Linked DNA regions of Homo sapiens: all the other regions are linked to region 3. Evidence: promoter capture Hi-C in 16 types of primary human blood cells and fetal thymus (Javierre and others, 2016). All regions are on one chromosome and are shown on one strand. The core of a region is centred on a gene start or on the middle of the fragment in contact, and the rest is flanking DNA. Distances in the headings are between cores, read along the strand shown.

Region 1 (3,131 bases), core at 457-2,956, 180 kb after region 3:
TTGAGCTCAAAGATCACTATCTGCAAGAGACGGGCATCAGAAACCACCCAGACCTGAATGTGCTGTCTCTTGGGATCCATCTTCTGAGGGTGAAGCTCGAGTGAGCGGGGCAGGCAGCTGTCAACAGGGAGCTAAGGAAAAGCCTCAGAATGGGCTCTGTGAAGGCAAGGCCTTTGTCAGCAGATAGGGACCGCTACAGCTGACCCCTGGGGAAGGAGAAAAAGCCTCCCACCATATCCTCACCTCTTTCTTCATCTCAGGGGGACAGCTAGGGGTGGCTCTGGACAGGAAAGAAGGGAAGTAGGTATGCAGGGTGGAATCCGGCTTTGCTCCAAATGCCAGCACTTTCAGTCGGGGGTAGAGCTGACACAGCTGCTCCTGCAGGCTGGGTGGGGTGGGGAGGAAAGACAGGCATAAGCTATAAGTGGAGCTGTATGATATGAACCTTTTGCTTGCTTCAGAGCCCATGCCTGCCTGTGGGGAATAGCCACTGAGGACCTTGCAATGGCTCTGAATCTTTTTACTCAGAGACTCCTTGGAAATCTGTTGAAAGCCATGGACCCTATCCCTAAGAAAATGCCCATATGCCAATCACACTCAAGGGTCCATATAATTTCAAGGGGTCACTGTTCCCTTGAAACCTACTCTTGAACTTCCAGGTTGCAAATCTCAGATCTAGGATGGCTGGGGAAGGAGAGACGGGAATATGTAGTGTGGTTCTGGTGCTGTGGTCCCTTCTCAGCAGGTGTGCCCCAGAGCAGTCCTACCTGGGTGTCAGGGAGTTGTTCGGCATATAGGCAAAGTCCAGAAGTGGGAAGAAGTCCTTGGGGCCAATCATGCCGAAGCCCTTGGTAAGGTTGGGATGCATCCTGTGGGGATGAAGAAACAGGCTCGCTGGACACCACCACCCATGCCAGCTGTTTTGGCCATGACCCCAGCTAAGCCAACATCTAGGAAAAAGGGTATAAACTCTACCCCATCTGCCAGCCCTTAATAGCTCCCTCTTCTTCCTTCCTCACCATCACATTCTAAGGTGGTGGGAGAAGCTGGTCCTGATTTTCCTCATATCCATGGAGACCAAGATCATAGCCTCCCATTTTGCTATAACAGCCACTTGGGACACCCTGAGCCTTCCCCTTGCTGCCCTCCCATTACTCACAGGAGCAGCCGATCCAGGTATGTGATGGCAAAGGGAGACAGAGACTTGATGCCCAGCACAGGCAGCATGATCCCCAGCCACACTGCAGGGGTAAAAGTCACGAGGGAGGCCTCAGGCTTGCACCTACTGGGGGCATCAAAGAGGAGTTTTCCAGCTCCGAGACCCTCCCTCTTTCTTCCCTATTTCCCTGTTACCTTTCAGTCCCTCGGTGAGGTTGGCAAAACCTGCTTGACCCAGGGCCCACATGATGGTGAGACACTTTGCTGGTCGGCTCTGGTGGGACCTCAGCAGTTCCAGGAACTGAGGAGACCGGTGGGGAAGGCAGATTGGGATAGGACAAAACACCAGGAGCACCCCCCAAAGCCAGGAGGGAAGGGAGATGTCAACTGGAAGAGGGAGGACAGGCCGAGCAAGAGTGGAGCACTATGGCCACGTGGTGCAGGTTCTGTTTGTGGGCTTCGCCCATACTCTGCCATTTACTGGATGACTGAGCCTAGGAAAGTTACTGAACTCCTCTGTGGCTCAATCTTTTCATCTATAAAAATGGGAAATAATAGCAGTACCTTGCTCCTATGTTTCCAGAGCACACACACAGGATAGGTGCTAATAGTGTTACCCATTATTACTAGGCTTACAGGTCTTCCACTATCCCAAACCTGAGTCCAACAACATAGATTCTGCCCAGCCTCCCCAGTCCTAGCTTCCTAGCATCCCCACCATCACTGAGAGCTCACCTTGCCTAGGTTTGCCGTGGCAATCTTGGGCTTGTCTTGCAGGATGGCCTGGATACAGATGCGGTAACCATGTAGTGACTCCCCTGGAGAGATACACATTCTCACACCTACTCACATTATTTGGCATCCCAAACCTGAAATCTCCCATTTGTCAGCGGTGAGCCCAGGCCCCAGGTCCACTGACTCCTAACTTCCTCCACACTTTCCAAAAAGTGTTAAGGTTAGCACATTTCTCTGCTGGAAACAGAACCACTGAGTGGTACTGGAAGCAGGAAAAAAAGGAGGAGGCTCCCAAGATGGTCATCCCTCCCGTGCCCCTTTCACCTGGTGTCTTATCCAGCTCTTGCAACATGGTGAACAGACAGTGGTCAAAAAAGAGCTCCAGAGACCCTGCTGCCTTCGCCAGCAGCCCTCGGATGATCCCACGTAGCTCCCGGCTCACCAGGCTGTAGGGATAATCTAAGGCCCATAGGCCTCAATGTGAGTGCTAGGACCAGACACCCATCAGCTCTGAGAACTGTGGTGCTCTCCCTGGGAATGGTGAGTGGAGGCAAAGGCCCCTGCACTGAGGCTGGGATCCTTCCTCTGAGGAGGCCCAGAGGGAGGATCACAGAATGAGGCCCAGAAACATTCACAGTCACGATGATTTGAGACCAGCCCAAATCACCCATGGAAATCAGGACAGTGTGGGGCACTGGGATCTGTTATACCACCCTTTTTGAATTTATTTGAACTTGTCTGAGCTTGAGGAAGCTGGAAGGACTTACCATGAGTATGCTGGCTCAGCGTGGGTTCACTTAGAGGAGCTTGTAGCTTGTAGTTGAGATAGCTGGCCAGGTCCTTCAACCATATGGATGGGTTTCCAGAGAACACACTCTGGCTCTTGTCCAGTTCCTTCTGCAGGTCTGCCACATCCAGCTGCCAGGGACAATCCCCCAACCCCCCACCATGGCGAGTTGTGAGTGAGGGAGTAAAGAAATGGGGTAGGGGTGGGAAAATGGTTGAACTAGGTGGCAGTAGGAAGAAGGGATTCCATTTTTAAGCATAAGAACATGGAATGCTGCAATTCTGCTGTACCTACATCTTTAAGAATGGAACAGGACAGCTGAAAATGCTGATCTCAGGCCCTATCCTCTCAGGCCCTCCACATGTTCAAGAGGAAAACAGAGGGCCAGGCGCGGTGGCTCACGCCTGTAATCCCAGCACTTTGGGAGGCCAAGGTGGGCGGATCACCTGAG
Region 2 (3,492 bases), core at 490-2,989, 240 kb after region 3:
GAAGGTCATATAGTCAGATGCCATTTTCATCAATAGCTGAAAATTAGCTTATTAGAATAATTATGATTATTTTAGCTGGTCAACAGATGGAGGGGACTATTCTCAAGAGGGGAGTGAAAAGACTAGGAAGAGTTGATGGGGTAGGTGGTCAGTTAAGTACCCTGGGCTGACCGGGAAGCAGCCACTTTGGAGGGTCCTGCCCTCACTTAAGAGCTTGATTTGGTGCAAACTGCCTGGGCCTGCTTGAAGCTGTCAAACCCTATTTGCCCCAGGCATGGGAGGCTCCAAGTAAAGGCAGCTGCTTCTTTTGTACCAAAATGTATTTACTGAACAACAATCACTACCCATTCTATTTGGTCTTCATTAAATGACTAAAGCATACATGCTTCTTATAACAAGTCAAATACAAAAACATATAAAGTAAAAGTTCCCCTTTGAGTCTCCTTTTCCCTTCCCCACACCCAAATCCCACCTCCCAGAGGTAAACATTATTGCGTTTCTTTTCAATCTTTAGATGTCTATACATGGGTATTTCCTTCCCTACTGAAATTTATCTAGGAATTTAAATTCACTTTTGCTCTTGCACCTGAACAGCTTGCCCTGGTTCTTTAATTACTCAGTAGTTTCTGCCTTGAGCCAGTCTGTAATTCTCTCCATCCAAAATGACCTCCCTTTACCTCTGCTCACTGGCAAGGTTTCCCTCTTAAGATGAATAGCTCCTTTCCCTTGCCCCCTGGATCTCACGGATGCAGAAGCTGATTTTAGCAAAGTCACCGATGAAATCTATGCCTCTACCAGTTGAGGAAGTCAATAAAGACCACATGTGTGTCCCTCACAAGCAAGAGCTCAGCAGCTTTTCTATTTCAAATGAAGACCACTCCCCAGACTGGCCTCCCTGCTGGAGAACTAGCCACCCCCACCACACACCCAAGCACACCACATCTGTGCCTCCTAAAGTCAAATGCTCCTGTCCTGCCAGTCTTTCAGGTTGGCTGAATACATGGAGCAAAGATACATTTCATATACTCCGGTTTTGGCAGTTGAAATAATAATGCAAGTGCCGGGTCTTCCCGGTACAAACCTTTTCTCTGTTCGTGTCAAATACCGAGAGGGGTGCTGAGAGATGGGGGCTACAAAACTGAGAGTCCAAGATGGACCTAAATCACGAAACAATTTTGAAACCATTATTTGCTATTTTATGCTTTAGTCAATATAAAATAATCATTGCTATTTCTTATGAAGCAAGCACTCTACATACTCCCTTTCATTTAATCTTCACAACAACCCTGTAAAACAGATAGTTATTATTCCAGGGTTATAAATGAGGAAACTGGCATTCAGAGGTAACATAACTCACCCAAGGCCACACAGCCAGGAGATGGCTGGATGGGGATCTGAACTCAAGTCTGCCTGCTTCCAGAGGTCAGGCTGCCTCCGCGCTTCCCAAGGAGAGGGTTTAGAAGTCCTTATGGCTCCCAGAAACTACAAAAGGTTCCATTCTGAGAGGTGGAAGATAAGCCCGCAGCTGCCCAATGTGCACGCTCCTCCTCTCAGCCCCATCTGCCTCTCCACCTTGCTTTCTGGAATGCGGCAGTCTCACAGATAAGAAGTAGAAAAGACTTCAAATACCCAACTTCACATTTGCTTTTCTGTTAGTTGATGCAAATTAAAAAAAGAAAGACCTTCCTGAAGTCAGAATGTGTGATAAAAAATATTATTTTTAAAGTGGCAAGAATAAATATTTAGTTAGACAGTTTGACACAAAATTTTGCCTGGCTGTGCAGCATCTCAGATGACAAAACAAGCCCTTGCCTACAGGGCTAATTACGGACTACTAAATTATTTTTATTAAAACCCTTTGGAACATTATGAGGGATGAGGCAATGTGGTGTTGAAGAATAACTCTAGTCTGGAAATCTGGAGATCTAATCCTGACTCAGCCACTAATAACCACCAACATTCATCTGCCTAGTGTACACAGTTTACAAAGTGTTTTTACATACGTTCTGCATGGGTTGGGTGACCTTAGGTAAGTCATTTAACTCTTGGTGTCTTGTGTCAACTTTAGAAATGAGGGCATTAAACTATACCATCTGGGGTCACCTCCAGTGCTAACATCCTAAGCGAGGGAGACATGTGCCTTGGGACCTTTACAAATGTATCTGTAAGCAAATCAGGGCAGATGCATTCTGTTTTAAAAAACTATATTTTCTGGCCAGGCGCGGTGGCTCACGCCTGTAGTCCCAGCACTTTGGGAGGCCGAGGCGGGTGGATCATGAGGTCAGGAGATGGAGACCATCCTGGCTAACAAGGTGAAACCCCGTCTCTACTAAAAATACAAAAAATTAGCCGGGCGCGGTGGCGGGCGCCTGTAGTCCCAGCTACTCGGGAGGCTGAGGCAGGAGAATGGCGTGAACCCCGGGAAGCGGAGCTTGCAGTGAGCCGAGATTGCGCCACTGCAGTCCGCAGTCCGGCCTGGGCGACAGAGCGAGACTCCGTCTCAAAAAAAAAAAAAAAAAAACTATATTTTCTGTTCGGCTTCTGACAAATGTTACTCGGCTAAATTCAGGAATAGCTCATAAGACGTTTGCTGCCAGTTAGTTGGCTCAGTTTCTGGAGAGTACCACATTAAGACCCTGGGTTGGATTCTCATATGGGAACTTTCCTCCGTTCAATAGCCTCCTACTATGCCTAACTCCAGCCAGTCATCTTACAAATACAACCCCACAATGTGTGCTGGCGTGCAGGAAGGACTAGAAGAAACTCAGCTTCACAATGCATGCACTCTCAGGACGGTAGGTCAGAAACGGCATCATCACACAGGAATACTATCAATAGCATTCTTTCTCAGTTCCAAGATTCACAAATCCCTCCCTCAAGTCTTGCCATTTCCCGAGGGTTTTAATGTTTCTAAAATGAGGATGCACCTTGGAATCAGCATATATATTTTGATCTGGTAGCATTAGATTATTTTACCTAAAAGCTATTGGTAAATTGCTGGTGTGTCTTAGAATCAAGAATACAGTCCTACAAAACCTCAATACCATTACATAGATTTAGGTCTAACTTGGTTCAAATCATGTCCCTCTCCTTGATCTTAACAATTACATTCAGCAACAGCTGGATAGGCAATGTATAAGACAAGTATTAGTCCTGTTTCCTCATAGTAGCAGTTTAAAAGGCATTCCATCATTATCTCATAAAACACTGGTATGGATTTCAAAGGCAAATTAATCCATATAAAAACTACTCTGATCCTCTGAAAATGTACTATCCCATAGCAAACTGGAAAGGAACATTTTACTTACACCCTCCTGATCTATCTAGCCTTGACACATTTTCTTCCTCCTTAATTCACAACCCTCCACCCCAGTAATATCGCTGATTCCCAAAATACACTCAGCCCAGGAGGAGCAGCTCTCCAGTACAGCTGTCTGCTCCTGCCCTGCTCGGGTATTTTGGTGAGCTATGTGACACAGGACCACACAGAAG
Region 3 (3,578 bases), core at 789-3,288:
TTATGCCACTGCACTCCAGCCTGGGTGACAAAGTGAGACCTTGTCCCCAAAAAAAAAACAAAAACCATAAACTTGTTACTCAATAGATAAGCGTTTAATAGCTACATAGAAACAGAAAGTTTATGTGGGAGGGATCAGCATATTTAAACTGCATTCAGCTGGGTGATGAACAGTTTAAGGAACCTGCATTCTGAGACTGTCCAGGGATCTGAAGGATAGTTTGGCAGAACCCTCCCTGGCCAGGTGGAGTAATCCATTTATATGTGCGAGTGGCTCCAAGAGGCCTTTCCCACCCTGATCCTAATCAGGCCTCAATTTTGTAGTTTTATAAACTCAATTTAGTCAGTGTGTCTAGAGTTGACAAAGGTGATGACTGACAAAGGTTAACCAAATTCACAAGAATTCACTATCAACTAGAATGCAGTGTATTTGTAGGTTTGTGATGAACCTAGAAATTCTTTTCCAGGAAGAACAACATGTACGTCCTTTATCCGGAGCTCACTCTCCCCAGCGTCAGGGTGGCTGGGAAGGCAAATTAAGAATTAAAGGCTTACACCTGCAGTGAGGCCAAACAAATTTTGAGAGATACTACTCTAGGCCAGATTGACTTCCTCTATTACCTTAATTACTATATGTTGGGTTTTTTTTAATGCTTGAACTGTCAGAGGGCAACTTAGTTTCCAAATTTCAGAGGTGAAGGAATAGGGGAAACCTCACTGTAGGAAGAAACTCAGTTTTCTCACCTAGAGGTAAGAACACAACTGAAAAGCAGAGAATCAGACGAGGCCATGTCAGTAGGTCTAGAAGATAATGTCACTGGTTTTGTAGGTAAACTGGCACTCACTGTCACAGAGAAGTATGTGACCCTAGTTTCCAGTCTCTTTCCACTAATTTATGTAGTCCTAAAAAGCACTGCTCCCATCTGACTCTGCTGCTAAAAAAAAACCTTCAATGGATCCTTTACCAAACTAAGCTGACTCTGCTTTGGCTTCAGGTCCCTCCATGCCCACCGGATTTAACTTATCTGCAGGCTTTTTTCTCCTGACTTCTGCATGCCTAACAAGTTGGACAAGGCTGTTCCCTTACACCTCTTTTACTTTTCCTTGATCCATGCCTTCACTACATACAGAATGCTTTCAGCTATACCTGGAGCCTTGATGCCCTTAACAAAGGCGGTAGCTTTTTCCTGAGGCCTCCAACACTCTGTGCCTCCCAAGGCACTTAACAACCCCTAACTACAGTTACTAGTGATCTTAGTCCTTGACTTTACTACTTCAGTGGGTATGTTTTCTGCAGGATGCCCAGCAGGGTGTCAACGTCTCCTACTTCACTAATAGTTAACAATTACTGACTTGAAAAGGAATGTAGAGAAAGCACTGGGTGTGGCTACCTTGCAGAGACCGAACTCATCCATTTCATCTGGGGGGATGCCATAGTTGCCGATCAGAGGATAGGTGAGCACTAAGATCTGTGCCTTGTAGGAGGGATCAGTGAGGGCCTCGGGGTAGCCGACCATGCCGGTTTGAAACACTGCAAGAAAGAAGCAGGGCTGGGCTCCGGTAGGGCACCCTTCGGAACACTCCCCGCGCGATGAGCACGCCCCAGTGGAGGCTGCCTTGGTCGCGAGGGGTTTATGGCGCTGGGGCCCATGGGCACCGAATGGGGGAAGGGGGTACGCTGGCGGGAAAATGGCGGGGTCTGGACGGGGAAGGTTGGGAGGAGAGGCGCATCACAGAGTGGGATAAGGTCTGCAGCCTAACCGGGCTTGCTTACCCACTTCCCCGGCAGTCGACACGGCGGCCCCAAAGGGCTGGCCCCGCAGGACCGACCCGTCCTCCAACACTAGGGCCGCCATGGGAAGGGAGCTCAGAGGCGGGGGCGAGTACGGAGAAGCGGGAAGGACTGCAAACTCCACTGGAACCACGTGAGGACGGCGCGCCGGAGTCGGTCCACGTGGCTAACGGCGCGGGGCGCTGGAGAGAAGCCGGGCGCGGCAGCGTAGGAGCCTCGGGCGCGCTTGGCGGCAGCAGCAGAGACTGCGGCGGCGCGGACACAGGCGGCGTGAGGGGCGGGGCCGGGCACGTAAGGGGCGGGGTCCGCGGAGCCACGGGGAGTGGGCCCCCGTGGTCTCCGCACTGCAAAACCGGGGGAAACCTGAAAAAACCGGCTGCCCTAAAGCAGTCCCTCCCACCCCAAGCAAGAAACACGTAAAGGCAGGGCGCCTTTCCTTAAAAAGAAAGAGAGGAAAAAAAAAGAAAAAAGTGTTTATTATAGGCAACAACACCAATGGGAACTGGTATTTGTCTACACCAAGGGAGTGCAATTTTTCATCTTCCAATGGCGGCCTCAACCTTGAGGCGAATCCACTGGCGAAAGATGCCTTTCTAGGAAGCAGAGCTCCCTGACTGGGCTAAGATAGTTCAGATTGATCTTAGGTCAATGGTAAGACCTATGTAGTTCATGAAGTCTTGGCTTTTCGGCGCTGGGTCGCCCAAAGCAGAATGGAGACGGATAGAGTGGTGGCTCCCAGAATCCCGAAGAACATAAGCAGTGAGAACGAGCCCTGTGAACAACAGACCAAAAAACACCCCCATACAACGTTACACGGAGGGCCACATCCTAACACCTAGTTCTTTCCTAATATACCTATCACTTTGTCTAGGGCAATTCTATAGTTTTCCACCTATAGGAAATTTGTATCAGCTCCTGGTCTTGTGGCTCTCCTTTCTGAGAAGACTTGCTCTATGCATTCCTTGTATCCCTAGTTAGACGGCCTAATTCCTCACCTGGCGCATACACTTGTATCCATGGAAACCATCAGCACAAACACACTGCAAAAGACCTGGACCATCAGGTACACAAGATCCATTCTCAGGACACATTTCTGGAGGCCAGAGAGAAATAGAGAACATCACTTTATCCATTTCATTAGGCATATTTCTCAATTATCTGTTTCAACTTAGATTCTCTCAATCATTGCTAGGATAAAGGAAGAAGAAAGAAAATTACAGATAAAAACAGTAACAATAATGTCAGGCCTCTGAGCCCAAGCTAAGCTATCATATCCCCTGTGACCTGCACGTATACATCCAGATGGTCTGAAGCAACTGAAGATCCACAAAAGAAATGAAAATAGCCTTAACTGATGACATTCCACCATTGTGATTTGTTTCTGCCCCACCCTAACTGATCAATATACTTTGTAATCTCCCTTACCCTTAAGAAGTTTCCTTGTAATCTCTCCCACGCTTAAGAAGGTTCTTTGTAATTCTCCCCACCCTTGAGAATGTACTTTGTAAGATCCATCCCCTGCCCGCAAAACAGCACTCCTAACTCCACTGCCTACCCCAAAACCTGTAAGAACTAATGATAATCCCACCACCCTTTGCTGACTCTCTTTTTGGACTCAGCCCACCTGCACCCAGGTGAAATAAACAGCCTTGTTGCTCACACAAAGCCTGTTTGGTGGTCTCTTTACACGGACACACGTGAGACAAATAATAGAGTATATCTTAAGATCTTTTCTTTCAAAGGGGTTATAGCCCCAGAACTCTGAATGAAAGGCGCTTAAGCAACTT

What was found. Contacts are between HindIII fragments. The CHiCAGO score rates a contact against its expected background, and 5 or more counts as called.
Region 1: a fragment that was not itself captured here is called in contact with the fragment with the promoter of CAD in region 3 in 2 of 17 cell types (total B cells and naive CD8 T cells); the score reaches 5.7 in total B cells.
Region 2: a contact is called between a fragment that was not itself captured here and the fragment with the promoter of CAD in region 3, in 1 of 17 cell types (total B cells). The highest score is 5.5, in total B cells.

What each region holds. Positions count from the first base shown.
Region 1 is chr2:27,034,815-27,037,945 of GRCh38, reverse strand. It overlaps TMEM214 (transmembrane protein 214), which reads right to left. Exons shown (of 17, transcript NM_017727.5): 3 at 2,661-2,811; 4 at 2,218-2,352; 5 at 1,894-1,976; 6 at 1,354-1,459; 7 at 1,160-1,241; 8 at 768-869; 9 at 244-385. Among named protein-coding and RNA genes, the nearest start is that of TMEM214, 3.4 kb to the right of the region's middle. The HindIII fragment of the contact is 4,998 bases long and covers 1-3,131 here.
Region 2 is chr2:26,972,576-26,976,067 of GRCh38, reverse strand. All of the region lies in intron 1 of MAPRE3 (microtubule associated protein RP/EB family member 3), which reads right to left. Among named protein-coding and RNA genes, the nearest start is that of MAPRE3, 3.7 kb to the right of the region's middle. The HindIII fragment of the contact is 5,007 bases long and covers 1-3,492 here.
Region 3 is chr2:27,215,829-27,219,406 of GRCh38, reverse strand. CAD (carbamoyl-phosphate synthetase 2, aspartate transcarbamylase, and dihydroorotase) reads right to left here and starts at 2,038. Exons shown (of 44, transcript NM_004341.5): 1 at 1,774-2,038; 2 at 1,391-1,530. The coding sequence starts at 1,855. ATRAID (all-trans retinoic acid induced differentiation factor) reads right to left here. Exons shown (of 7, transcript NM_001170795.4): 6 at 2,787-2,884; 7 at 2,250-2,563. The coding sequence ends at 2,459. RefSeq lists a silencer at 1,937-2,166. The HindIII fragment of the contact is 10,576 bases long and covers 1-3,578 here.